Regions from separate parts of the Homo sapiens genome. Here regions 2, 3 and 4 are each linked to region 1. Evidence: promoter capture Hi-C in 16 types of primary human blood cells and fetal thymus (Javierre and others, 2016). All regions are on one chromosome and are shown on one strand. The core of a region is centred on a gene start or on the middle of the fragment in contact, and the rest is flanking DNA. Distances in the headings are between cores, read along the strand shown. Region 1 holds the start of FSD2 (fibronectin type III and SPRY domain containing 2). Region 2 overlaps HDGFL3 (HDGF like 3). Region 3 overlaps HDGFL3 (HDGF like 3). Region 4 overlaps TM6SF1 (transmembrane 6 superfamily member 1).

Evidence for each region. The method cuts DNA at HindIII sites, captures the fragments that hold promoters and counts their contacts. A CHiCAGO score of 5 or more calls a contact.
Region 2: a contact is called between a fragment that was not itself captured here and the fragment with the promoter of FSD2 in region 1, in 3 of 17 cell types (fetal thymus, megakaryocytes and erythroblasts). The highest score is 6.2, in fetal thymus.
Region 3: a contact is called between a fragment that was not itself captured here and the fragment with the promoter of FSD2 in region 1, in 1 of 17 cell types (neutrophils). The highest score is 5.3, in neutrophils.
Region 4: a fragment that was not itself captured here is called in contact with the fragment with the promoter of FSD2 in region 1 in 1 of 17 cell types (neutrophils); the score reaches 6.0 in neutrophils.

Annotation. Positions count from the first base shown.
Region 1 is chr15:82,803,036-82,809,679 of GRCh38, reverse strand. FSD2 (fibronectin type III and SPRY domain containing 2) reads left to right here and starts at 3,611. Exons shown (of 13, transcript NM_001007122.4): 1 at 3,611-3,714. It overlaps WHAMM (WASP homolog associated with actin, golgi membranes and microtubules), which reads right to left and starts at 52. Exons shown (of 10, transcript NM_001080435.3): 1 at 1-52. RefSeq lists an enhancer at 3,228-3,327. The HindIII fragment of the contact is 1,284 bases long and covers 2,994-4,277 here.
Region 2 is chr15:83,193,186-83,199,829 of GRCh38, reverse strand. All of the region lies in intron 1 of HDGFL3 (HDGF like 3), which reads left to right. Among named protein-coding and RNA genes, the nearest start is that of HDGFL3, 11 kb to the left of the region's middle. The HindIII fragment of the contact is 4,252 bases long and covers 1-3,543 here.
Region 3 is chr15:83,154,810-83,161,453 of GRCh38, reverse strand. It overlaps HDGFL3 (HDGF like 3), which reads left to right. Exons shown (of 6, transcript NM_016073.4): 3 at 3,413-3,551; 4 at 3,881-4,039. Among named protein-coding and RNA genes, the nearest start is that of HDGFL3, 50 kb to the left of the region's middle. RefSeq lists an enhancer at 2,225-3,424. The HindIII fragment of the contact is 5,956 bases long and covers 731-6,644 here.
Region 4 is chr15:83,123,738-83,130,381 of GRCh38, reverse strand. TM6SF1 (transmembrane 6 superfamily member 1) reads right to left here. Exons shown (of 10, transcript NM_023003.5): 7 at 5,606-5,710; 8 at 3,535-3,627; 9 at 2,905-3,024. HDGFL3 (HDGF like 3) reads left to right here. Exons shown (of 6, transcript NM_016073.4): 6 at 1-2,629. Among named protein-coding and RNA genes, the nearest start is that of TM6SF1, 19 kb to the right of the region's middle. The HindIII fragment of the contact is 7,337 bases long and covers 155-6,644 here.

The DNA of each region.
Region 1 (6,644 bases), core at 2,362-4,861:
CTCCTCGCACCGCCTGTCACGGGACAGTCCGAGCCAAATCATTTTTCGCTAGAATCGAAACCGCGTCAGTGCCCCAGCAGCACCCTGGCCCCCGGCACTTCTGATTGGCTGGCTGCCGGAGGTGGGGCTTACAAGAGGCATTCGGGGTTGGTTGGGTGATAGACGAGAGGGCCAGCGACAACCAATGAAAAGGTGAGAAGGTCTCCCTCAGGAGTCAATCATCTCGCAACCTGTTCAGGAGTCTGGGAAATACAACTCTTGCCTCACCTTTTCCACCCAATACATACGGACGTTGGAAAAATATCTGTTGAATCGGCGAGTTATTGTATTAGTCTCCCACACTAAACTATGAACTTGAGAACAGGGACCAAGCTGATTTTCTTTTCTATCATCAGGGCCCTATTGAGTACATGGTTCACGCCCTTAAGAATGTCACAAATGCGTTGGGGAGATGAAATATAAACTCGATAGTCATTTATTGAGGGCCTCTAAGTGCCAAGTACTGGGCAAGAAGCCGCAAATTTATTTTTGTCAATTCAACAAACTTTTATTGAGTGTCGGCTGTGTGTCAGTATTGAGGGGGTGGAGTAAGAGGGGGAATTCAGGGCACTGCAGCTCCCAACCAGGGTGTTTAAATACAATCTGTGTTCTAACTCTTCACTTTAGAGTTAAGGAAACGGAGGCCCAGACAAACTTAAGATACACCGACACTCGGGCTCGACATGCCCCCCTGGCTACGGAAGGCCTGTTTAAGGAGATATCAGGAAATCCAGTTTACGTGTCAGGGTGGAGCTAAATCTGTTCATGCAACAAGCACCAAGACGGCCCTAGTCTCTGCCTAGGAAATGTGCAGTGTAGACTGAGAAATACAGTCCATGTCAGCTCCCATCCTGGGAGTGCACTGAGACAGGTGGTGGGAATGGGAGGAGGAAAGGAGGGAGATGCCAGGAAGCTGGGATCAGGAGCCGTTTGCCAAAGCAAGGCCTGTGAGGTGTTGATTCGGGAACAAGTGAAAGTGTTTGTGAAGGTTTTGAGCTGGGAAAAGTTGGAATCAGATTTTGTACTTGCTGTTATCCCCAAGGGTAAACAATAAGCAAACGAAAAAATCAGGGCGAAGCTAAAGCTCTAGTTAGGGCATCTCTCTGCCTTGAAAATGACCTCAAGAAATCTAGGAACCTCTGTGGAATGCAACTTGAAGATGGAAAGGTGCCTTTGTCTGAAGGTCCCTCCCCTTTTATGCCTGCTGCCGGTGTGAGGGTTGGGGATTGGGCCCTGGGACTCAGTCACTCAGTCTTCTTGGAGAGATAAACTTTTAGCTGAAGTGATTGATTTTCCCCTATTTTAATATACTATTTTAACTAATATGAGTTACTTATGATTTTTAACAGTCTGTTTTAAATATCTTTCTTGTATATTCCTCACATTATATCTTTTTACTATCTGCTTTATACTGTGTTATTTCTGTTAGTTTTCTTATCTATTTGGTTTTTCAAGCGGAAACTGTCAATCTTTCTAATTATAAAATTGTCGTGGGTGGCTGGGTGCAGTGACTAACACCTGTAATCCCAGCACTTTTGGAGGCCGAGGTGGGCGGATCAGTTGAAGTCAGGAGTTCGAGACCAGCCTGGCCAAAATGGCCAAACCCCGTCTCTACTAAAAATACCAAAAAAAAAAAAAAAAAGAGAGAGAAAAAGAAAAGTTAGCCGGGCGTGGTGGTGCATGCCCTATAATCCCAACTACTCAGGAGGCTGAGGCATCAGAATTGCTTGAATCCAGGAGGCAGAGGTTACAGTGAGCCGAGATTGCACCACAGCATTCCAGCCTGGGCGAAACAGTGAGACTCTGCCTCAAAAAAAAAAGAAAAGAAAAAATAAAATTATCCTCTCTCTATATATTAATATATGTCTTAGTCCATTCAGGCTGCTATAACAGAATACCATTGAGTGGGTGGCTTGTAAACAACAAACATTTATTTCTCATGGTTCTGGAGGCTGGAAAGTCCAAGATTAAAGCACCAGCAGATTCAGTGTCTGGTAAGGAAGGGCTGCTTCTTGGTTCGTAGATACCTGTATTCTTACTGCATCTTCACATGGAAGAGCTCTCTGGGACCCCCAATGTAATGGCACTAATTTTATTCATGAGGGCTTGCCTTCATGACCTAATCACCTCCCAAAGGCCACATTTCCAAATACCATCACATTGGGGATTTGGTTTCAACATGGGAATTTTAGGGGAATATAAACTGTCTATAGCATATGTATATATATGTATGATGGTTAATTTTAATGTGTCAACTTGATTGGGTCACCAGGTGTTTAGTCAGACATTATTCTGGGTGTGTGTGTGTGATGGTGTTTCTGGATGAGATTAACCTTTGAGTTAGTAGACTGAGTAAAACTGGTTGCCCTCCCTCATGTGAGTGGGCCTCATCCAATCGATTGAAGGTCTGAATAGAACAAAAGCTTGAATAAGAGGGAATTCTTCCTGCCTAACTGCCTTCAAGTGGGAATATGGGTTTTTTTCCTGCCTTCCAACTCAAATGGAAACATTGGCTCTCCAGGGTCTTGAGCCTGCTGGCCTTTGGACTAGAACCACACCATTGGCTCTCCTGGATCTTCCGCTTACTAACTGCAGATCTTGGGACTTTTTGGTCTTCATAATTACATGAGTCAATTCCTTATGATAAATCTGTTTCCATATATGTATACATTCTATTGGTTCTGTTTCTCTGGACAACTCTGACTATTACACTGTGTGTGTGTGTGTGTGTGTGTGCGTGCGTGCATGTGAGAGAGAGAGAGGAGAGAGAGATTATACTGTTATGCTGGTCTGTGGGCTCAGCATCAAAGTAGGAATTTTGCAACACACCCACAGTTAACACTCACTTTTTTCCTCAACACCTAGACTCTTTCAACTTCTTAACAGAGTCAGAATTTTGGAAGAAAAGAACATTAACACTAAATTGTCATTTTATAAATTATTAAACTAAAGCTTAGAGAAATAGTCAATCATAGTCCATAAGGAATGTATTGGCTGGATAGTCCCATTTCTATGCCATACCATGGCAAGTAAAAAAAAAAAATAATAATGTTTGCTTAAGGCTTATATGGGAAGTGTGTCCTGTGCTTTGATTAGAAAAGTGCCCCCAAAATGTTTTTTAACCTTGTATGGTTCATGAGCACCTCTGAGAATCTATTGAAACCTGTGAGTTCTCTTCCCGGAAGTGATTCTATAAGGACACAGACATAATTTTGCATATAATTTTAGAAACTCATTCACTTAAAAAAAAAAAAAAGGAATCTTCTTCCTGGTCTTGCCGTGACAGTCCCCAGCCCTCTCCACATGACCAGCCATCTGAGACCCATGGTAGAGCCACAAGTCTAAAACCCCTCACAGCACAGAAAGTAACTCAGAGCACGGCATGTGACCTCTCCTGGTGACACTTGAGTAGTAAGAAGTGGCAACTCAGCCACAGCAGGTCTATATTTGGACCTTCACTCATGGCAGGCCTGTTGCTATTTGTGGCTGCAGCCAGCTCATGTTACCATCCAGCTTTGGTGCCCCACTTGCAGAACTCTGGTGTAAAATAGGCAGGGGTAGCCTGTGGGGCATGCAGAGGTCACTAGGAAGGAAAGCCTGCTGAACACAGATTCAATTTTCTAGCAGAACTCCAGGTCCTCTGAGTTAAAGGAAGCATTTATGGACGCTTAGCAGGCAAGTTTTGGGGTAGTCATATTCTTCCAATGCAAATTGTATTATTAGAAACTCAATGCTGCAATATTAATGCAATATCTTTCCTGTAGGTGGGAAGAGATATCATGGTAAATTGCAGATGTTTAAATTACAATAAATAGTGTAAATGTTTTCTGTGCCTTCTTAAAGCAAGAATTCGCATTAACTGAACATGATGTTGGGACAGGATGTGAGAGGCTCTGATGAAGGCAGACAGGGGCTGGTGATTCTTATAATGTGTCTTTAGGATATCTGTAGTGCTGGGACCCATTAGTTAGAACCATTTGGTAGAACAGTTTGGAAATATAGATGTTGAATATCATCTGGCTATACTATTGTGTTGTAAATACATTTTATTTAATCTGTGTGTACATGCTGAAAAATAATAACTTCATGCATTGATTCAAATACTAAAAAACAGCATCGTAATTATTTTTCACTTGTTATGCATACAGCCTCCTCCTATAGAAAGTTTTCAGGTTCGGGCAGTGTCTGCAAAGCTGATTTGAATCATTTCATATCACTGTAACACTTTAAGGCAAGCTTTCTTTCACTGCTGTGGCTCAGGAATTGCCAAGGGCTGCATGGAAGAGCTAAAATTATAGGCAAAGTTATGTTCCTGCCCTTATGGAATCACTTCTGGGAAGAGAATTCACAGGTTTCAGTAGATTCAGTAGATATGCCCATGATCCATAAAAGGTTAATAAACAAGCCAAGTGAGGTGGCAGATTGCATGAGCCCAGGAGTTCAAGACCAGTCTGGGCAACATAGCAAGAACCTGTCTCTAAAAAAAAAAAAAAAAAAAAATTATTGGGGGACTTTTCTAAGTAATGCACAGGGATACACCTCCCATATAAGCCTTAGACAAACATCTTTTTTATTTTTTTTAACTGCTTCCCTTGGCATAGAGGAAAGGGTATCCAGCAAAGACATTCATAATGGACTATGACTAATTGCTTTACTTCTCTAAGCTTTAGTTTCACCATTTATAAAATGACAGTTTATTGTCAACTTTCCTTTCTCCCCAAATCCTGATTTTGTTAAGAAAGAGTCTAGGTGTTGAGGGGAAAAGTGACTGTTAACTGTAGGGTGTGTTGCAAAATTCCTACTTTGACACTGAGCCAGTTTGTGTTGAGACCACTTTGTGTTGTGTGTTCGAAGGGCAAGTGCCAGCTTGAAAGCATGTGTTCTTATCTGTATTTGCACTAAGTGTTTTCCAGTCTTCTGACAGTTCAACTTGGTGTTTCACATTCCAGCTTCTGGTTGAAATAATTTCTCATGATGATTTATTGGTCATACAGAATCCTGGCTATTTCCCTTTGGGTAGCACATGGGAATGTAAGCATTATTTTAGTGAACTGCTCCTCTGTCTGTAGATGGTGTGATTTAATGGAAACCTGGGTTTGAATCCAAGCTCTTCACCTGACTGGTTGTGTGTCAGGTGAAAAGCTTGGATTCAAGCACAGGGCTAAATACAGAGTAGCCCAGATACATTTTTGTAAAAGAAAATTGGCTATAAGCAAGTCCTTTATCCTCACAAGATCTCAGTTTTGCCATCCTAAAATCAGGAATTTTTTTTAAACATCCATGACCTGCTGAATAAAATCAGGAAATTGAATTAGATGCTCTCCAAGGGACCTCCATCCCTAGAATACCATATCTCTGCCTGGGCCCCCTGGGAGAGGAATGATCTCATAGCTGATGTCTGTGCGTGGTTATGAGGCTGTTCTGCTTGGTGCCTTCTTTCATCATCGGCTGTTTTCAAGGGACAAATATTCCCACAGTAGCCATGGATGATTCCACACTGCTGTGGTCACTCTCCATGAGTGACTAGGTAGAAGGCTTCTAGCCCAGGTGGGAGATACTAAGGTAGGAATCATGATAATGATAGTAAGAACAACAACAATAACAGCAGCTAACACTTACTGAGGACTTACTTTAAGCTATGTACTATGCATAAAGTACATTATGTTATTTCATCTAAATGCCAACCTTATGAGGTAGACACTGTTAATAGAGCTGTTTTATAGTCCATTAAAGTTAGGCCTAGAGAGATGATTTTCCTGAAGTCATACTTCCAGGATGTGGCAGAAACAATGCAAACACAGGACTCTCTGAATCCAGAGGGCAGTGATCTTGGGGAGCAGGGAGAGGGGACAGGAAAAGGGATATTACTTAGAGATTCAAGAGGTAGAGTCAGAATCAGCATGAATTAGTTATTAATTAGATTGGGGGTGTCAAGGATGAGCTTCTGGTCTCTGGTTTGGTGCTGGAGGGGGTGGATGTCATGCTCTCATTCATGGATAGTAGCAATGCAGTGGACTTCATGGAGGGCCATGTTGGATGAGTATGGGGTTTAAGAAGCAGTGGTGAGATAGGGAAGAGTGGGAGCTCTCAGCAGGCAGGACAGTCTGAGCCAGGGCCTAGGGTGAGTCTCACATGGAAGACCCTGAGCGCGGCCAGAAGGAACAGAGGGTTACCGCTAGGGAAGGTGGGGCTGCTTGGGGAGTATAGAGCTATGGCATGGGGTGGGGGATCCCTGGTGCCCAGGAGAGTTGGGACTTGCCAGTAATGGAGCCCTCAGAATGCACGATGTGCAGATGTACCACTTCTGCCTGAACAAAGCAACATATGCTGTATAAGCTATGCTGCTATCCTGGGCAGGGACACCCCTGAGGAAGGACCATGGTGCGCGCAGTCAGCAGACTGTAGAGACAGGAGGGTTTCAAGCAAGATTTCGAGCCACAGAGGGAAATAGTGGGATTTTGGCACAGACTCTGTGCTTTAGGAAGGAGAAGTACTCTGGGGTCCCAGGAAAGAGGGAAAGCAGCGTCTCTGAGAAGTTGTGCATAGCCCCAGATGGGGTAATAATCCCTTAGTCACTTGTCTGGAGCCTCCTTGACACCAGCAAC
Region 2 (6,644 bases), core at 168-2,667, 390 kb before region 1:
ACCTCGTGATCCACCCGCCTCGGCCTCCCAAAGTGCTGGGATTACAGGTGTGAGCCCCTGCACCTGGCTTGTGATAGGCCATTTCTGGAAGTTCCACAGAGCTTCAGGATTTGGGGACAAGATAAACTGGACCACATTAACATACAAAAAGGGTCTAAGAATAAACTATTCTTCTCATTTGATCATTGAAACTCATATTCTGAATAGATTCTCTAAGTCTGAATATAGAGTCTATACAGCTACCCAGAAGTAGAGGTGTCAGTGTAGGGGAGTCAGTGGTAGCTGCCAGGTTGCCTGTATGGGGACTGGAAAATTTCTGATCACATAGTAATAACTTCTCAGTTTCTATTGCAAAATACGAGATGAGAGTGGTTTTAAGTGATAGTTTCAGTAGTGGTTAGCACATATAAAAATGAGTTTCACAGAAGATTAAGGATTTTTTATGATGTAGACAGGTCAGAAAATAAACTCAACTTCAGATCTCTATTTCCTTTTCCTTTGACACTGAAGTAGTACTTTATTATTAATAACATGTTTGATCTTGGAGGAAATGCTTGTTCAGAGGGAGTAGTAGTATAAATTCTCAGTTAATGCTTTTAGAGTTACCATATGTTGAATGGATTGAAAATTCCCTCTAGACCACTATTTGATGTTCCAAATGAAACCAACTAATTTAAAACAAGTTATAACTTCTCTTATCTCCTTCCCTGGACTACTACATGATGATGAAGTCAATAATTTTGAAAAAAATATTTAGACTTTGGAAATGAGTTGTTGTTGCTGATTGATTGCAGTCTAACGGCTTTCAGGTTTTTTGACTGTAACCTACAGTGAGAAATAAATATTAATTCCCATCCCAGTACGTGCACATGCATGCACACACACACTGCTGAGATTTTTATATGATCCGTTTGTCCCCTCCAAAACTCATGTTGAAATTTTATCCCCAGTGTGGTGGTGTTGGGAGGTGGGTTCTAGCGAGAGGTGTTTGGGTACTGTTGCTGGTCCTGTGGTAGTGAGTTCTCCCTCTCTGGAGACTAGATTAGTTCTCTGAGAATAGATTAGTTCTTGCAAGAGTGAGTTATAAAGCAAGTTTCTTCCTCCTGTTTGGTTGCTTTTCACGTGTCCACTTTCCCTTTGACCTTCTTTGCCATGTTTTGAGTTAGCACGTGGCCCTTACCAGAAGCTGAGCAGATGCTGGTACCATGCTTATACTTTCCAGCCTGCAGAACCATGAGCTAAATAAAGCCTGTTTTCTTTATAAATTACCCAGCCTCATTTATTCTGTTACAGCAACCCAAAATGGACTAAGATGCACCTATAACAAAAAAATTTTCAAGTTGTACTTACTATATGTGATACATTCTGATATTTTTATATTTCATTTTATGTAAAGTCAGGTTGCAACCTGCTAAATGAGTTTCATTACCTACAGTTTGAAAAACACTGGTCTGGTCAGTAGGCCAAAGGGAAAGTAATCTCTGTGAGTTGTATGCGTTTATATAGAACAGAAGTTGGATTTTTGAGAGGATGATTTGTTAACAGTCCTGAGCTTTTTATTCTGCTGTAGCCACAGTCTTACATGAAGGTCACACGAACATAAATTAAAGCAATAGTGTATTAGGTCATTGAACTATCCAGGCCAATATGTCCCCTGATCCCAAAAGGTTAGTTATATAGATTTTAATTCTCATCTTCCTTTTAATCTTTCAACTGCAAATGTATCAACAACTATATATATAATTAATTGGCTTCTTTTTTTTTTTTTTTTTTTTGAGACGGAGTCTCTCTCTGTCACCCCAGGCTGGAGTGCAGTAGTGTGTTCTTGGCTCACTGCAAGCTCTACCACCCTCCTCATCACCCCCTCCCCGCCGCCCCCAGGTTCTCCTGCCTCAGCCTCCCAATTAGCTGGGATTACAGGCGCACACCACCACACCCGGCTAATTTTTTAGATGTTTAGTAGAGATGGGGTTTTGCCATGTTGGGCAGGCTGGTCTCGAACTCCCAAAGTGCTGGGATTACAGGCGTGAGCCACCGTGCCCGGCCTATAATTGACTTCTTAAAGGTAGTAAGTTCCACACGTTTGCTGACTACCGAGTTATATACAGTGTTTGACAAACTAGTGTTCCGTGGCTGATGATATTGAGGCTGTGGAGTTTTCCTGGTTTGTGGGACTAGACTGTGGAGGTATCAAGCTATGACTGAAGATGATGAGCTTTTGTGAAGTTCAGAAACTTGAAGATAGGGCAGGTTTGTGGTACCCTTTAAAGTGGATGTAAAGTTTTTGCGATTAACATGTTTCTAATGGTTTTGTATTTCCTTTTTAATTATTTTGTCCTATCAAAAAGAGATTGCCTTGCTACTGTGAGATATAGCAATCTGAGTAGAGAGAACCTGGTATTGATGATAGGAAGGCATTCTTCAATTTTTTAAAAGAAACATTTCTGAAAAGTTACTGTAAGCACAGTTTTATGTCTTACATCTGGCTCACTGACTCACATAAAATATGTAAAATGTTATTAGAAACAGACCCACTATACTATTATAAATGGAAATATTTTGAAGTAAAAGAAATAAGATTAGATTAAATTTTATGATATGCCAGGTGTTCAAGAACTCTGGCTGTTCTCCAGCTCAGCACTGACCCTATCTTATGCTATGTGTGATGTCAGGGGAAGGACAAAGCCTTTGGTAGAGTTATGAAATATCATGGTCTCCATTCTTCGTTTTGAGTACACTCCTGGGATAAAGATTTATTTAACTACAAAGGATCAGGTAACCCAGAACAAATGTGTCCCTTATTTTTATATTGTAAAAGCAAATGACAAAAGTAGTGCAGCTTAACAAGAGTGGGCATGCCCTAGGTCAGCTCCTTGTACATCTTCCTCAGATGTTAGTAGATACATTTACTATTCTCTTCCAGCCTTTCCCCCTCATTTTCAGCAAATTGTTTTACCTTCATACTTCATAGAGAAAATAGATGCCAACAGGCTTTAACTGCACCTTCCTATCTTTTGCTTATAAATGAAAATCATCTCTCTCTAACCTTCTCTAATCCTCTTGGATTTTTGTTTCCCCCTTTTTTGTTAATCAATTCTATTTTTTTCTCTAAATCATTAATTTCTGATCTCATCTTCACTACCTTTCCCCAAGTATATTTTTCTTTTCTTCTATTTCAAACTTAATGAAATAAAGTCTTATTTAATTTTTTTGAAATCTTTTTGAAAATGAAAACTTTTAAAGCTAGTTTTCCTCAGGTCATATTTGGCTTCATGATGTAGATTTGAATAATTGGTGTTTTATAGTCATTTTCAAAATAGGTTTTGTGATTTTCATTTCTGAGTTGGCCCAAGAGATATTTAGGAGAGAATTTTAGGAATTATAACTGGCTAAAGAGTTTGTATGTAATGCTTTATTGTTTTTTAATATGGTTATCTTGTAGTCAGATTATGTATCCTTTTTAACTATTTTAATTCATTTAGTGTTCTTTTCATATGTGATCAACTTTTAAAAAATGGTTTTTGTATTCCTGAAAAGAAAGCTTCTTTAGGAGTCAATAAGTATATTGACTTAATAAATGAGTCAATAAGTATATTGACTTAATAAATAAGTCAATAAATATAATGGACAAATATAAATATATTGATATTTACTAATATATTTTTTAAAATTCTTAATGTTTATTTTTTGTCAACTACTCTCTCCAAAATGAAGAGGTATATAAATCTAACATATCTATTATATTTCTACATATCTGTCCCTTTTTTTGACCGTTTATTTAATAAATGTCAGGGCTTTATTTGGCACATAAATGTGTATAACTTGTAACTTCAGGATGGAGTCAAAATATAGTGATCTGCTATTTCATACTTTCTAGCACATAAGTTATAGTACTTCGTTGGATATTAGTTTTGTAACCTGTTTTCATTTTTGCTTTTATTTCACTAATACATCTTTATCCAGAATTTTACTCAAAACTTTTCTGTTTTGTTTTAAGATATAAGTATATGTAACTTAATTTTTTTAACCATTCCTAGGAGATTTTTTTCCCTTTTTTCATTCTTTGCCAAATTTTGTAAGAACCTGGTTTTCAGCATTTAAGCATATAACATTCTTAATTTCTGTCATTGAAACTTTTACTTTTTAAATTTTCAGTTATTTCCATGTGAAGGTAGAACTACGTGAATTGGGTAACATTAATGTTCTACCATTATAATCTCATTAGGTGTTTATTGAGTATCTCTTCTGGGTTAGTAACTGTGATAGACTTAGCATTATAAAAATTAATAAGACATGATTTTAACATTAAAGAGCTTGAGATAGATTAAGGAACAGAAACATGTACATAGAGGAATACAAGTGCAATATATGTAGATCTCGATGACAATATTTTTCTTTTATTTTTTTAAAAAGACACATTTATTCAGTATCATGATCAGACTATTACATTTAGCAATCAACAGCATGGGTGCAAAAAAAAATCTACATTAAAAAACCTTTGTTGGAATGTTTTACACTTTCCACATAACAGAAACTAAAATAACCTGTTATACAATTAGTCACAAATACAATCCTCAAGTTTTTTGCCCAATATTTGTCTGAAACATGATGACAGGATTTTTCTATCTTTGCAATTAGACTAAATGAACAAGAATGAGCCAAAACTGACTAAGAAAGAGCGTGGAAAAGAGAATACATGGAGACATTTTTAATTGGCAATTTATTACAAAAAGACTGGGTTTCAGCTTTTTTTGTCATACGATATTGAAATGTAGTTTTTGGAACTGTCTACATTATTTGTAATACAACTATATAGTCTTACCATTAGAAAGAGATAACACTGCATCCTGAGTGAGCCCTCCTTTACATTTTGTTCTATTGCTTTTTCCTTCCCTGCAGGCAATTTCAAAGTCTTTAATGAAAATTTAAATGATAGTACCTTCTGAGACATAAGATTTAAGATGATTTTCAGTGTTGTTTTCGAAGGGATGAGAAAGCTAAAATGCATTAATCTCTTTTACCAACTGACTTGCTCAGTTACAGAGCAAGTAAGTGGAAGGGAGCTGCACTAAAATTCATTGCCGTCTGCACCCATCTCCATAGGATGCCAGGAGGAAGTGAAAGGAGATAAGGAATTCACACTAACCACTTTGACAATTAGGCAGAAACCCTGAATTTATTTTAGGTAAAGAAAAGGTGAAAACCAGACTTGGAATAAGCTTTTTATGTGCTCATTGTAATTAAAAAAAAATTTTAATTGTAAAAATACATAGAATGTAATTTATACCATCTTAATAATCATTTTAAGTGTATAGTTTATGTAATATTAAGTACATTGTTTTGTAACCATCACCACTCTCTATCTCCAGAACTCTTTTCATCTTGCAAAACAAACTATACCCATTAAAAAATAACTCTACATTCCCTGCCTCCTAGTCCCTGGCAATCACCTCTCCACTTTGTGTCTCTATGAGTGGGCTACTCTGGGTACCTCATACAGATGGAATTATACGGTATGTGTTTTTTTGTGACTGGCTTATTTCACTTAGCATAATATCCTTGAGGCTCATGTATGTCCAAATTTTCTTCCTTTTTGAGACTGAATAACATCCCATTGTGTATATGTAAAACATTTTGTTTATTCATCCACTGATGGATACCTGAGTTTTTTTCACCTTTTGGTTATTGTGAATGATGCTGTTATGAACATGAATGTACAACTATCTCTTAAAGACCCTACATTCTGTTCTTTGGAGTAGGTAGCCAGAAGTTGAATTCCTTGTTCATATTGATGCAGGACAGGTGAGCCCCCAAATTGGGGCTTAGCTTGGGAGGGTTCTTGGCTTTGCCCAGGAAAGAATTCATGGGTGGGGTGGTGGTGGTGTGAGTCAGCAACTCTTATTAACGTGGCAGCGTATAGCAGCAGCAGCACAGGTACTGCCCCATGCAGAGTGCAGCTACACTATAGGCTACCCTGTAGGCAGTGTACCCAGAGTAGCAGTTCAGGGGCAGTTCTGCAGTCATGTTTATATCCACTTTTAATTACATGGAAATTAAGGGACAGATTATGCAGAAATTCCTAGAAAAAGGATTGTAACTTCTGGGTCATTGTGTCCTTGCCATGGAAAGGGGCAATAACTTCCAGATGTTGTGCTGGCAACGGTAAATTGACATGGCACTGGTAGGTGTGTCCTACGGAGAGTTGCTTTCATATTTTTCCTGTTTCTGCTAGTCTTCAATCTGGTCCAGGGTCTAAGCCCTGCCTTCTACTTCAATATGGTAATTGTATTTGTAATATTTTGAGGAAACACCGTACTGTTTTCCATAGGGACTGCACCATTTTACATTCTCACCAACAATGCACAAGGGTTCCAATTTCTTTACTTCCTCGCCGATGCTTATTTTCTGTTTTTTTTCAAAGTAGGAATCCTAATGGGTGTGAGGTGGTATCTTATGGTTTTGACTTGCACTTCCTTAATGAGCAGTAATGTTGGGCATCTTTTCGTGTGCTTATTGGCCATTTGTATGTCTTCTTTGGAATAATGTCTATTGTCCTTCACCCATTTTTTAATCAGCAAAAAATGGTGGTTGTTGTTGAGTTGTAGGACTTAATCATATGTTCTGGTTGTTAGCTTCTTAGGAGA
Region 3 (6,644 bases), core at 2,459-4,958, 350 kb before region 1:
TGCAGTGGTTCATGCCTGTAATACCAGCACTTTGGGAGGCCAAGGCTGGAGGATCACTTTAGCTCAGGAGTTCGAGACTAGCCTGGGCAATATAGTGAGATCCCGTCTCTACAAAAAAATAACATTAGCCAGGCATGGTGGCTGTAGTCCTAGCTACTCAGGAGGCTGAGGTGGGAGGATCACTTGAGCCTGGAAGCCAAAGCTACAGTGAGAGACCCTTTCTCCCCTGCCCAAAAAAATAAGTATAGGCAAGCCCTGATTAGCATCAAGTAGCTGATGTGAATACCAGGCAGCTTAGCCCACAGTTATTTCTTAAGCATAGAGTCAAAGACTGGGGAAGGTCAAAAGCTAGAGTCTAATAATTCACGACAAATTCTTCTAAAAGTGAAGTTGCCATACACAAAGTCCATTTATTGTGTTCAGTTTATCAAGCAAGACTTTGACTTTTTTTTATTAAGATGTCCAGTAATGTAATAAATTATTTCTGGATTCAATGAGGTAGAATCATGCTGACTGAGCAATTAAAGGTGAACAATAAGGAAAAGGTTGGTGCTTCTTAAAAGTTTGGTGCTTCTTAAACCGCTCTGGGGTCAGAAAGCTTACCCAGGAGTTTTAATGAACTTGAAGTTTTTGATCAGCTGCACAATGCGAGGGATCAACCCTGAGACCCAGGCAGAAAATGGAATTTACAGAGATCAATAGTAAACTGTTAACCTCTCGTCTGAAAGCTTTCAGTATCTTCTCTTTACTGATAATTTCCAAATTTACATCTCCAGCTTACACATTTCCCCTCTACTCCAGAGTCCTCTCTCCAGCTACCTGACATCTCCACTTGGATGTCTAAACTGGATTTTAAATGTAGCATTCAAAACTGAGTTTTTTGCCCCCAAATATTGTTCCCCCCCCAAAATATTTCCATTTCGGTAAATACCAACTCCTTCTTATTTCTCAGTCCAAAACCTTGGAGATGGCCAGGTGTGGTGGCTCATGGCTGTAATCCCAGCACTTTGGGAGGCTGAGGTGGGCGGATCACAAGGTCAGGAGATCAAAACCATCCTGGCCAACATGGTGAAACCCCGTCTCTATCAAAAATACAAAAATTAACTGGGTATGGTGGCATGTGCCTATAATCCCAGGTCCTCAGGAGGCTGAGGCAGAAGAATCGCTTGAACCAGGGAGTCGGAAGTTGCAGTGAGCCGAGATCGTGCCAGTGCACTCCAGCCTGGCGACAAAGTGAGACTCCGTCTCAAAAAAAAAAAAAACCTTAGAGATATCCTCAACTCCTCTACCCTTTCTCACATATGCCATATGCAGCCCATCAACAAATCTTGATGCTCTTTCTTGAGAATGAATTCAGGATCTGACCACTTCTTACCAACAGTACTGCTTACACCCTGGTTCAAGTCACCATCATTACTTCAGAAGCCTTCTAATTAGTCTCCCTGCTTCTACTGTAGTAACTAAGTCTTCAGTCTGTTTTCAGTACAGCAGCCAAAGTTATCCTATTAAGACATAAATTGCCACTTCTCTTCTCAGAACCTTTAATGGCTTCCCATCTCACTCAAAGCCTTTATAGTGGCCTTCAAGGCCCTAAATAATCTGTGCCCCTACTCTGTTAACCTGTCTCACACCAGTCGTCCTTCACTCATTTCACTCTAGCCACACTGACCTCTTCTGTTTCTCAAACTTATGAGGCACTCTTCCTCTCCCACCTGAGGGACCTTGTACTTGCTCTTTCTTCAACTTGTTCTTTTCTTCTCCAGGTAACTGCATGAGTTATTCCTTCACTTTCTTTGTTCTTTACTTAGCTATTCCCTTTGCCTTCCTTGATCTGTATATCTATAATTATAAAATCCATCTCCTATTCTTCCCATCCTTCTCTGCTTTATTTTTTTTAGCACACATACTATATATTTTATCTTTTTATTGTCCAAACCCCCACCCCTGCCACTAGAACATGTGCTCCAAGAAAACAGAGATGTTTGTCTCTTTGTTCCCTGTAGCTCCTCTGGAATAGTGCCTGGCACATTGTATTAACAAATGTTCAATCAATGTTTGTTGAATGAAGGAATGTGTGAATCTCAGTTTGAGAAGTAAGCTCTAGGGGTGTCAGCCAGAACTGTGGCCTAATGCTAAAGACTCTGATCTATTAGCCAGGCTCAGAATTTGTTCTAACTTCTTTTTTTTTCTTGGTTGTGATTAATTTAGGATGTGGTTTAAATTGGATAAAAGTCTATCTGCTTTGTCACTTCTAATTTTTTTCTTAGTGCCTCATTAAACACTAAAATGATTTTTTAATTTATAGAAATAATAGGCTGGGCACGGTGGCTTATGCCTGTAATCCCAACACTTTGGGAGGCCGAGGCAGGTGGATCACCTGAAGTCAGGAGTTCGAGACCAGCCTGACCAATGTGGCGAAACCCCGTCTCTACTAAAAATACAAAATTAGTCAGATGTGATGGAGCATGCCTGTAATCCCCTACTTGGAAGGCTGAGGCAGGAGAATCCCTTGAACCCGGGAGATGGAGGTTGCAGTAAACCGAGATCATACCATTGCACTCCAGCCTGGGCAACAAGAGCAAAACTCTATCTGAAAAAAAAAGAAAGAAATAATAGTGAATAAATATACTAACGTGGTACAGTAGTGCCCCCTTTATCTGTAGGGGATACATTCCAAGACCTCCAGTGGATGCCTAAAACCGTGGATAGTATGAAACCTATATATACTATGATTTTTCCATCTGATAACAGAGATAGCTATTAAGTAACTAGTGGGAAGGTAGTGCAAATATGATGGATATGCTGGACAAAGGGATGATTCATGTCCCAGGCAGGATGGAGTGGGTGTGAGATTTTATCACCTGTTCAGAGGGGTGTAATATTTAAAACCTATGAATTGTTCATTTTCCATTGGACCACAGTTGACCATGGGTAACTAAAACCACAGAAGGCAAAACCACAGTTAAGTGGGGAATTACTATATAGAGAGTTAAAATCTTTTTTTTATTCTAGCATTTATATTTTTACTGTGAATTTCACAAAACCCTTACCTGTGGTAAGATTAACATAGATAAATCTTAGTTTAAGATGATGATTTAAGTGGCCAAAGTAGACATATTTAATTCTACTTATGTAACTAAAAATCAGTTTTTAAATGAAGATATTGATAATTTAAAAGTAAAATCAAAGTAGCACAATCCAGGTGGCTGGCTTGTATGCTCAGCTATCCATTTTTTCTGCCTTGAAGTATGTGTCTGAAACACCTCGTAATATGTGCCTAACTTGAAGGGTTTATATGTACTTTAGATTTGTTTGCTATAGTATGCTCTGACATCTTCACTGATACTGATATTTAAAATATCTTACCTTTGAAGGTCAGTGTGTCAATTCTATTTCTAATATGTCTCTGCAGTGCATTTCTAGGTCCCAAAGACCTTTTTCCATATAAGGAGTACAAAGACAAGTTTGGAAAGTCAAACAAACGGAAAGGATTTAACGAAGGATTGTGGGAAATAGAAAATAACCCAGGAGTAAAGTTTACTGGCTACCAGGTAATGGTTTACTTCCTTGTCACTTGCTATATCTCATTTCTTTGGTTTTAACGCTTTTTCAAATCTTTCTTATATGTCCTTTCTACTAATAGTTACCTTGAAGTCACAATTCTTTTTGACTCCAGTAGCATTTTGGATTAAATGTAATTCTTAATCAGAAGGGTTCAAATCAAGTGTCCATTGGAAAATTCAGTTTGACAGCCCTTTGTTTTTGAAAATCTTCCGAGTAAGCGGAACCCTTTCAAATGAAAACAGAGTAGTTCTTTTCAGTGTTTGTTCTTTGCTATTTTTTCAAAAATGTAATCAGCTAATATTTTATTATTTCTTAGGCAATTCAGCAACAGAGCTCTTCAGAAACTGAGGGAGAAGGTGGAAATACTGCAGATGCAAGCAGTGAGGAAGAAGGTGATAGAGTAGAAGAAGATGGAAAAGGCAAAAGAAAGAATGAAAAAGCAGGCTCAAAACGGAAAAAGTCATATACTTCAAAGGTTACTAAGAAACTTCTCATTGTTATTAATGTTATATGCATATCCATTAAACATTTTTAGATTATTTTCCATGTGTTTATTGGGTACATAGAAATATACTAAATTCTATGGAGCCTCTGCCTTTAGGGACAAAATACAGCAGAGGGAAGTCAGGTAACCTTAGATATTAGAGCAATCTGACTATTGACTCTTTAGGGCTGATTTGGCCCTGAAAATACCACCTTTTTAGTTGGAGGAGGACTGACTGTTCTTTAGTTAAGGATATATGAGTAGCTTTGCCTCCTACAGTAACCTCCAGACGAGCTCTAAAGAATTGAGAAATGTAGGAAACACAATATAATTCAAGACTATGTCTATGTACTATATGTGTAAATGCATCACATGTAACTTAACTATGGGGTTCTAAGAAATGCATCATGGCTGGGCGCGGTGGCTCACACCTGTAATCTCAGCAGTTTGGGAGGCTGAGGCAGGCGGATCACAAGGTCAGGAGATCGAGACCATCATGACTAACATGGTGAAACCCCATCTCTACTAACAATGTAAAAGCAAAATTAGCTGGGCATGGTGGCGGGCGCCTGTAGTCCCAGCTACTCATGAGGCTGAGGTGGGAGAATGGCATGAACCCAGGAGGCGGAGCTTACAGTGAGCCAAAATCGTGCCACTGCACTCCAGCCTGGGTGACAGAGCGAGACTCCATCTCAAAAAAAAAAGAAATGCATCATTAGGCAATTTTGTCATTGTACAAACAACATAGAGTATACTTACACAAATGTAGGTGGTACAGCCTACCACACGTCAAGGCTTCGTATATGTGGTCTGTCACTGACCAAACATTACTATGTGACATGACTGTAAAAAGATATATTTTTACTTGTCATTCTGCTTCAAAGAATGTGCTTTGGCTGTTTATTTATTCAGTTCTTTTATTTCCTGATCACCTAGTCTATTCCAGACACCAGACTAGGTATACAGCGGTGAGCAACTCCATTCCTGCCTTCACATAAATTATAGTACAACAGAGAGTGGGGGTAGCACACAGTAATCACGTAAATAATAAATTGTGAAAGGGTGTGAAGGAATTGAATGGGAGCAGGGGGACCTAAAATAGGTCCCCTATTTTAGATAGGGTGGCCAGGGCTTTCTGAAAACGTGTAGTTTATGCTGAGACCTCAAAGAAGAGAGTAGGAGGAGAAGCCATATATGGCAGAGGGAAAGGAATGTAGCATCAAAGCTCTGAGGCAGGGAAGAGTTTAGCATGTTTTTCCTGTATTGAAAGAAGGTGTGGCTGGAGAATCATGACCAAGGGGGAAAGGCTGGCAAAGGCCTAATTATGCAGACTTGTAGGCCATAATGAGAAATTTGGATTTTATTCCAAATCTAACAATACTTGAAGATTTTAAACAGAGGAATGACATGATCCTAGATTTACAAATTGAAAGTCTAGGTTTTTTCATATGGTAATTCAGAAATACAATGGAAAGAACTCTGAGATTGTGAAAATTATTCACCTTTTAGAAACTGAAAGCAAGATAAATGGATCCTTGAAGACCAAAGATTGGTACAGGTTTCACTATAATTGGTCTGTCACATGATTGAATACCTGGATAAATTACTTCTATTTAAATTCTGGTGTTTAGTGACTGAATACACTTAGGAAACTCTAAAAACAAGTACCTAGAGTTTATTAGATTATCAGCATTTATTTTGGCAGTATATAAAATCTTACCCAACTGGCATACAGGCAGAATTGTGTGAATGCAGCATTGTTTCCTGTGTACCTAATGAAAAACATGTGATTGCCTTGGATGGGGATAAAGTTTGCAAATGACGACAAAGTAATTAGAATTTTTCTTGTCAGACTTTATCTTCCATTGTAATTACTTTTTTAAGCTGAATTTCTTTTAGCATTTTGGACTTCATTTAAACACCTACTTGAATTGATTTTACTTAATTTGTGATTGCCTGCTGAGCTTCCACCTAATGTGTTGTGCAACCCTAAATTATCTAAGCTACCTAATGTTGCCTAGGCATTTAATAGTGTGGATATGTGGCTTTTAAATGCCATTATTTTATTGCTTGTTACAAAGACCAAAAGTAATGGGGCTCCACCTGGGTGGACTTAAAATTTAAAGCAGAGAAAGGGTAAAGACACACTTAGCTTACTAATGTTTATCTATTTTAAATTAAGGGATCATTTCCTTTGCTTTCCTTGAAGATTACAACTTCATGATCATTTAATAGCCTTTTGGCTGGTCACAATGGCTCATACCTATAATCCCAACACTTTGAGTGGCTGAGACAAGTGGATCTCTTGAGCCCAGGAGTTTGAGACCAGCCTGGGCAACATAGTGAGACCTCATCTCCACAAATAATAAAATTAGCCAGGAGTGATTGCTCACACCTGTAGTCCAGCTACTTGGGAGGCTGAGGTGGAAGGATTGCATGAGCCCAGGAGTCCAGGCGAGTACTGAGCCATGATCATGCCACGGCCCTCCAGCCTGGGAAACAGAGTGAGACCCTGTCTCAAAAGGGGGGAAAAAAAAGAATAGCTTTTTATTTTTAATATCAATGAAATAACCTAGCATAATGGTTCTCAAACTGT
Region 4 (6,644 bases), core at 2,574-5,073, 320 kb before region 1:
GCTGCTCTGTAGTCCACACTGCCCTTCTCAGAACCACTTGGCTGGAGTAATAAGTGCCCACCTGCAAGCTTAGCTTCACCAACAGATTAGGGTTTGTCTTATTGCTACAGGCTTACCACACCCATTTTCCTCTAAGCTATGACCTTCCTAAGCTTCCTGACTGTTGACCCTGGCCATGTGACTAGGCTTTTGCCTAGGTTTTCCTGCTGTTTCCATTTGTCTCCTGAGACTTGACCAGGTCCAACATCTGGTCTCTTTAACCAGCCTGCTGGCTGATGACACTTAGCATTCCTGCATCAGGGACTGGTACCAGGCCGACCAGGCACATGGCAGGCAGAGGAGGCCTGATTGTGCAGGCAAAGCACAATTGACACAGGTAATAGGTGTCAAACTGAACAGCTGTCAAACTGAACAGTCTAATCCTCTAAAGAAAGGGCTGGCAAGAGTGAAGTGGGTATGCGGCCATCTGTTCTGAAGGATACAGGAGAATAAGGCAGAGGAACCAGGCCAAAAAAAAAGGCAAGGCTTACTCTGCCCTCAGACCTGCTGCATATGCCCACACCTCAGTGTTTCCCTGGGTTATTCCCTGGAGAGGCTCAGCCTAATAAAGCCCCACTTGGCCCTCAGAGTCCAACTCGGAATGTCACTGCCTTCCACCCACAAGGTTCTCCAGCACCTCGTACTACATACAGTCTTTTGTGCTGTAGGACTCTGTGCCATAGTTCATTGTTTGCATGGGGTGGGTGAGATAACACAATGGAGAAGAATATGAGCTTTGGAGTCAGACAGGATTTCATAAACCTATTCTGCCATTTAATAACTGTAATCTTAGGCAAATAATTTCAGGTGGACTGAGCCTCAGCCTCCTCATCTTTAAATTGGGGTTTTTTTCCCAGAGCTATTACAAAAGATATTATTATGTGTCCATTGTGCTGTTTATTCTGAGGCAGGCAGGAAGACCACAGTCACCAGCCTCCCCTCAGTTGACCTGGTGCCAGGCCTGGACCTTGAAAATATCCCACATGATCTTTGCATAAAAAAGAATTAAAATTTTAATTGTGTTAAGCTACTCTGAGTATTTGTTACAGCAGCAGAGCACATAGCCTATCCTTAGACAAATAGGTAAGTAAAACTTTTAACGTGGTTTGCCTGGCATGAAGTAAGGTAATGAGAGCTCAGACTAGTGTAGGGGCAGCGGAGCTGGAAAAAAAAAATGGGTTGGAGAATCACTGGAGTAAAACTAACTGGACCTGGTTGGGTGTGGTGGCTCACACCTGTAATCCTACCACTTTGGGAGGCTGAGGCAGGAGGATTACTTGAAGCAGGCATTTGAGAATAAGCTGGGCAACAAAATAAGATCCCATCTCTTTAAAAAATTTAAAAATTAGCTGTGTGCGGTGGTGTATGTCTGTAGTCCCAGCTACTCTGGAGACAGAGGCAGGAGGATTGCTTGAGCCTAGGAGTCCGAGGCTGCGGTGAGCTATGACTGTGCCATCACACTCCAGCCTGGGAGATGGAGCAAGACCCTGTCTCTTTAAAAGAAAAAAAAAAGGACTTAGTGGTGGTCTAGATGTAGAGGATGAGGAGTGTAAATAATTACTCCAAGTTTCTGGCTTGAGTTGCTGGATGCAATTGGACTATTTAAACAGATAATGAAAAAATGGAAGAGAGGTTGTGGGGAGGATCAGGTCCTATTTTATATATTAAATCTGAGGTGCTAGTGAGGCATGCAAGTAAAAAGACTGAGTTTGGAATGAAATACAGGAGTCTGGGAACGGTGTGGGCCGAAGGTAGAAAACTGGAAGTTATCAGCTTATAGTTGGTATTGAAAGATACAAAGATAAAGACCTAAAATACAGAAATAAACCCCAAGGACTGAGGAATCAGGTATTTAGAGGTCTGCAAAGGAAAAACAACCAGCAAAGAGCAATAAATGTTAGTTCTCTTCCTTCTTAAGCCCCTCAAGGAAAGGACAGGAACCATTACTTCTGGATGCTACATCAACTTTTTCGATACTACTATGCTAATTTTATAATTAAGAATTACCTCAAACTGAAAGGATTTAATGCATTGACCCCTTAAATACTATATTTTTCAACCGTGTGAATTCTAGTATGTCTTACGATCATGATTATTATACCATGCATATAATTGACTGTACAAGCCTACAGTTTCTAGATGAACCTCATTCTTATAACTGCTTGAAAAGAACAAGATGAAGCTAATGTTTTTAAATGATAAGTTCATTTGTTTTATTTCTAGTAAGAAAAATTAATTTTCTTCCTTGTTCAGAAGATTGATTTGTTTTGCTAATTATCTTGTAAAAATGTGCTTTATGTTATGTGTGAAGTTCTCCATAGATAATTTCATTTTCAGTTAAACGCAGTAAGCATTCACTGAACACCTACTCTAGGCCAAATATTTGGCAAGGTGCCAGCGGAAAAGGAATGAAATGACAGGCCCAGAACATTTTTTAAACCAGTTTCCCTGGTTCTGTATAGCATAGCGTAGTGGAATTCTGAAGTCTTAAATTTGGATGGACATTTTGAAGGTGACAGCTCTCAATCCTTTTTTAGTAGCCATGGTATTCAGAGATTGTGAAACAGTCCAATAAAACAACAATGCCACATGCTGGGTGTGTAACCTTGGGCAAATCATTTAACTTCACTGGACCACAGATAACTTCCTCATCTGTGTAACTGGATGGCACATCTACCATATAGTTATTGTGAGATTGAAATAAAATGTACTTGCAGAAATGTCTTCTGAAGAACTGCAAAACAAAAGGTGACATGTCTAATAGCTATCTCCTAGTCTAAAACACTGAGCAGAGAAGTTTTTCATATATTCAACAATTGACACCTAGACCACAAGTAAACCTTCTCAACAGAATATTCTTAGTACCTGAGCCAGACCTCCAGCATGTATCAATGTGATGTCAGGCATCCAGGAACATCCAGGAACCACTAAGCCATACAGTGCAGTCACAAAGTAAGGAACAGAATAGAACATATATGCCAGCATCTGTATTGAACAGAGAAATAACATCATCAGCAAATTGGCAGTTAACTTGGCCTGACTAAAAAGTACAAAAAAGTAAACATTTTCATCTTTGAAAATATTAATTCCTATTTCCTATATGGGACTCTTTTTTTTTTTTTACTTTTATTTTTATTTATTTATTTTTTTAGGTGGAGTCTCACTCTGTCACTCAGGCTGGAGTGCAGTGGCGCAATCTCGGCTCACTGCAACCTCCACCTCCCGGGTTCAAGCAATTCTCCTGCCTCAGCCTCCTGAGTAGCTGGGATTACAGGCATGTGCCACCATGCCCGGCTAGTTTTTTGTATTTTTTCAGTAGAGATGGGGTTTCACCATGCTGGCCAGGCTGGTTTCAAACTCCTGACCTCGTGATCAACCTGCCTCGGCCTCCCAAAGTGCTGGGATTACAGGCGTGAGCCACCGCACCCAGCTGGGACCCATTTTTTAAAAAGAAAATTAATTTTAGAAAAATCTTAGGCTTCATAACTACTTGACCTGAATTTTAGGATAAGCAGCAGGATCCTTTAGATAGGGCTCTTGAAATTGCGTATATAATCGGCAGAGCTCAGATGGGCAATCCAAAGCAATCTAAGGACAAAAATAAACTCATTATAAAAATACAATCACATCTGGTTCTTAGGTTTGCTGATAAGGCTAAATGTGCCAGGTTTAGTCACAAGCTGCTTTGCTGTTTAACAAAACGTATGCATTGTAGAGGCTCATCAATGATGGAAATATTTTGCAGATTTGTTCTAAGGAGACTAAGCAAAGGTTAATTATGGTGCAGGAAATGGAAACTAATGCCCTATTCTTGGGTATTTTTCAGATATTCAGAGTTTAAGTATCTAGGTTTGGCTAGCCAAAGCACAGCTTGCTTTAAATTATGAGTTTCACTTTTCTTGGAAATAACTAGCCCCCTATTCCCTACAGGAAGAAAAGTATATTTCTACACCAAATTCATCTTACTATGCATTGCAAGATTTGAAAATAGCACCTTCCTGTCTCCAGTGCATCATAGCGTATATGGCCTTTGGAGGCAGTAAAAGATGATTTGAAAGCAGGGTCCTCTTGCTGGAAAGTCTTTTTGGCACTTTACTAGGTCCCCTCTGAGTCACCTTCCTCCCCTCAGGCACCATTCCTCATGTCTTTGGCCATAAATGTTGTCCCACCTAGATGGCATATATGAACACAGGCCAATGACAGAGTTGGTAAAAATGGCCCCAATCCAAAAGCCCTACCCACCTTGCATGCACCCCCACACATGCACACATTTTTCTCGTGCACAGGGAAGGGGATATGGCCGTGCAAGAATACAGGTGGGGCCCACTATTTTTTGTTGTTTGAACTTTAAGAATTACAACAAACTAACCAAAGAACAGTTTCAGTGGCCCTGTGGTCTAAGCAAAGCTATGGCCTTGCCTTCTTTACTTCTCTTCCCCATGCCCCTCCTCCTGTTAGCCAGCTCTCCTCCAGAAAGTTTCTTGACATTTCACAGATAAAGATAACTCTTAAAACAGCTTCTCACCCTGAACCCAGCCTGCTGCACAGGCCCCCAGTAGCCCAAGACCCTGAAATGATAAAAGTCACCTGCATGGGCTTACACTTGCCACTCTACTGTCCAACTGTTACGCGCGCCAACAGGCTTCGAATAGAAATTGTCACTGAAGCTGAATATAATTAACAATATAATTCTAAACTTCCCAAATTCATTTCTACTAAGAAGAAATCATCAAATTGGGGCATTGTGAAGGATCACTGATCAATAAAAATCCTAACAGTAATCATTTACTATGTATAAGAGCCTCTACCAAGTGTTTGATGTACATTATTTAATCTCCAAAACAATACTGTTAAGGTAGGTAGTGTTATTTTACAGAGAGGAAAACAGAGTCCAAGAGGTTAAGTAGTTTTTCCAAGGCCACACAGCTAGTAAGTGGCCAGGATTCTAACTACAAAGCCTGTGAGTCTTTTTCCTAACCTCTGCAGTAAAATATTAATAAAGAGAAAATAGAAAACATGAAATGCCCATGTGCCCTTAATGTATTTCAGTCACATCAATACAAAGACTCCAGGCGTGAGATGAATTTACTCAACACTACTCTTACCAGTGAGACATTCCCATGACCCTACATACACGTGAATTGTTGAACTGGTACGCCTTCCTCAACCCCATTGCCCCTACTCCTGAGAACACAGGGATGCTCTGTGCCACAGTTGTGTTGCAGTCCTAGGGTGCCATCCTTACCAAAGATATTTACATTTAAATCAGAAACATCAAAAGAATAAAAAAGAGAGACTCTGATGGCTGATTTTTTAGATGCCCTAAAACGGGGAGGAAGATGCTTCTGAGTAGAGCTTGATCTAAGGACAGGAGGAGGTGACAGCAGGAGGCTGGGGTTGGGAGCAGCAGGAAGCAGGTCCAGGGCTCCAGGCTTTGATGGGAGGAATGGTTTGTTAGTTTGCTAAGAAGTCTGATGGAAAAACAAAAACATATTTCTAAGTTTTTTTCCATTTGGAAATGTGAGTAGTATCACAATGTTACGTTATTATGATCTGTTATGCTTACCAAACCTCTGAACAGGCAAAATCCAGTTGCCAGGAGGAGACACACAACCAACATTAAATCAAATGGTCTTCTCAGCAGGTCTTTCGCTTGGGCTTCTTGAATAACCTAAAATAGAGTTTGTACCTAAAGAGCAGGCCCAAAGTGCCAAAGAAGAATCTGAAATCTGAAACATTAAATGTCATGATGATGGATAAGAGAATTTTGAAGATGCACAATTTATATCATAAATCACTGGCCATGGAACTTTAGGAAAATCATTTCCTTCCTCAAGTCTCAATTTCCTTATCTGTGAAATGAAGAATTTGGGCTAAATGATCTCTCGAAGGGCTCTTGTAGCTCTATGAGTCCACTTTTTTTCTTGAAATGACATTTTAATGATAATAAATTTTAAAGGTAAACCATAAACCTGCCACACCACTATTAACCGTTGGTATACTTTTCCAGTAATACATGTAAATAGATATAGTTACATACACACAACATACATATATACACACACATATATCTACATTTTTCACAAAATTAGGAACAATTTTATATATAAAATTATTCCTGTATATAAACAATTCTGTATTTGTTCTTTTTGCTCTCAACATCTGCCTATATTATAAGCACTTTCCCACATGTTTAAAAATTTTCTCAAACTGAATACCATATGGAAACACCACACTTTAGCCATTCTCCCACTGTTGGATATTTAGGCATTTTTCACTGTTATACTTAATGTAATGATGAACAACTTTGTAAATCTTTGGTGGTATCTGTGTGATGATTTCCTGAAGATAGGGCTCTAGGAGCAGAATTATTGGGTTCCAGAATTATTAAGGTTGATAACATTGCCAAATTGCTTTGCAGAGCAATTCTGAATTTATGTTTCTGTCAGCACTGTATGACAATGCCTGCTTGGCCCTGGCTGTCACTGTGTTTTCACATTAAAAATAATGATAAGTAATTCTGCATGCCTCATGGCATACCTACTCTGTTGACACACTGACATGGAACCTTTAAAAGCAGTGGAGCTGGGACTAAGGGTGGACTG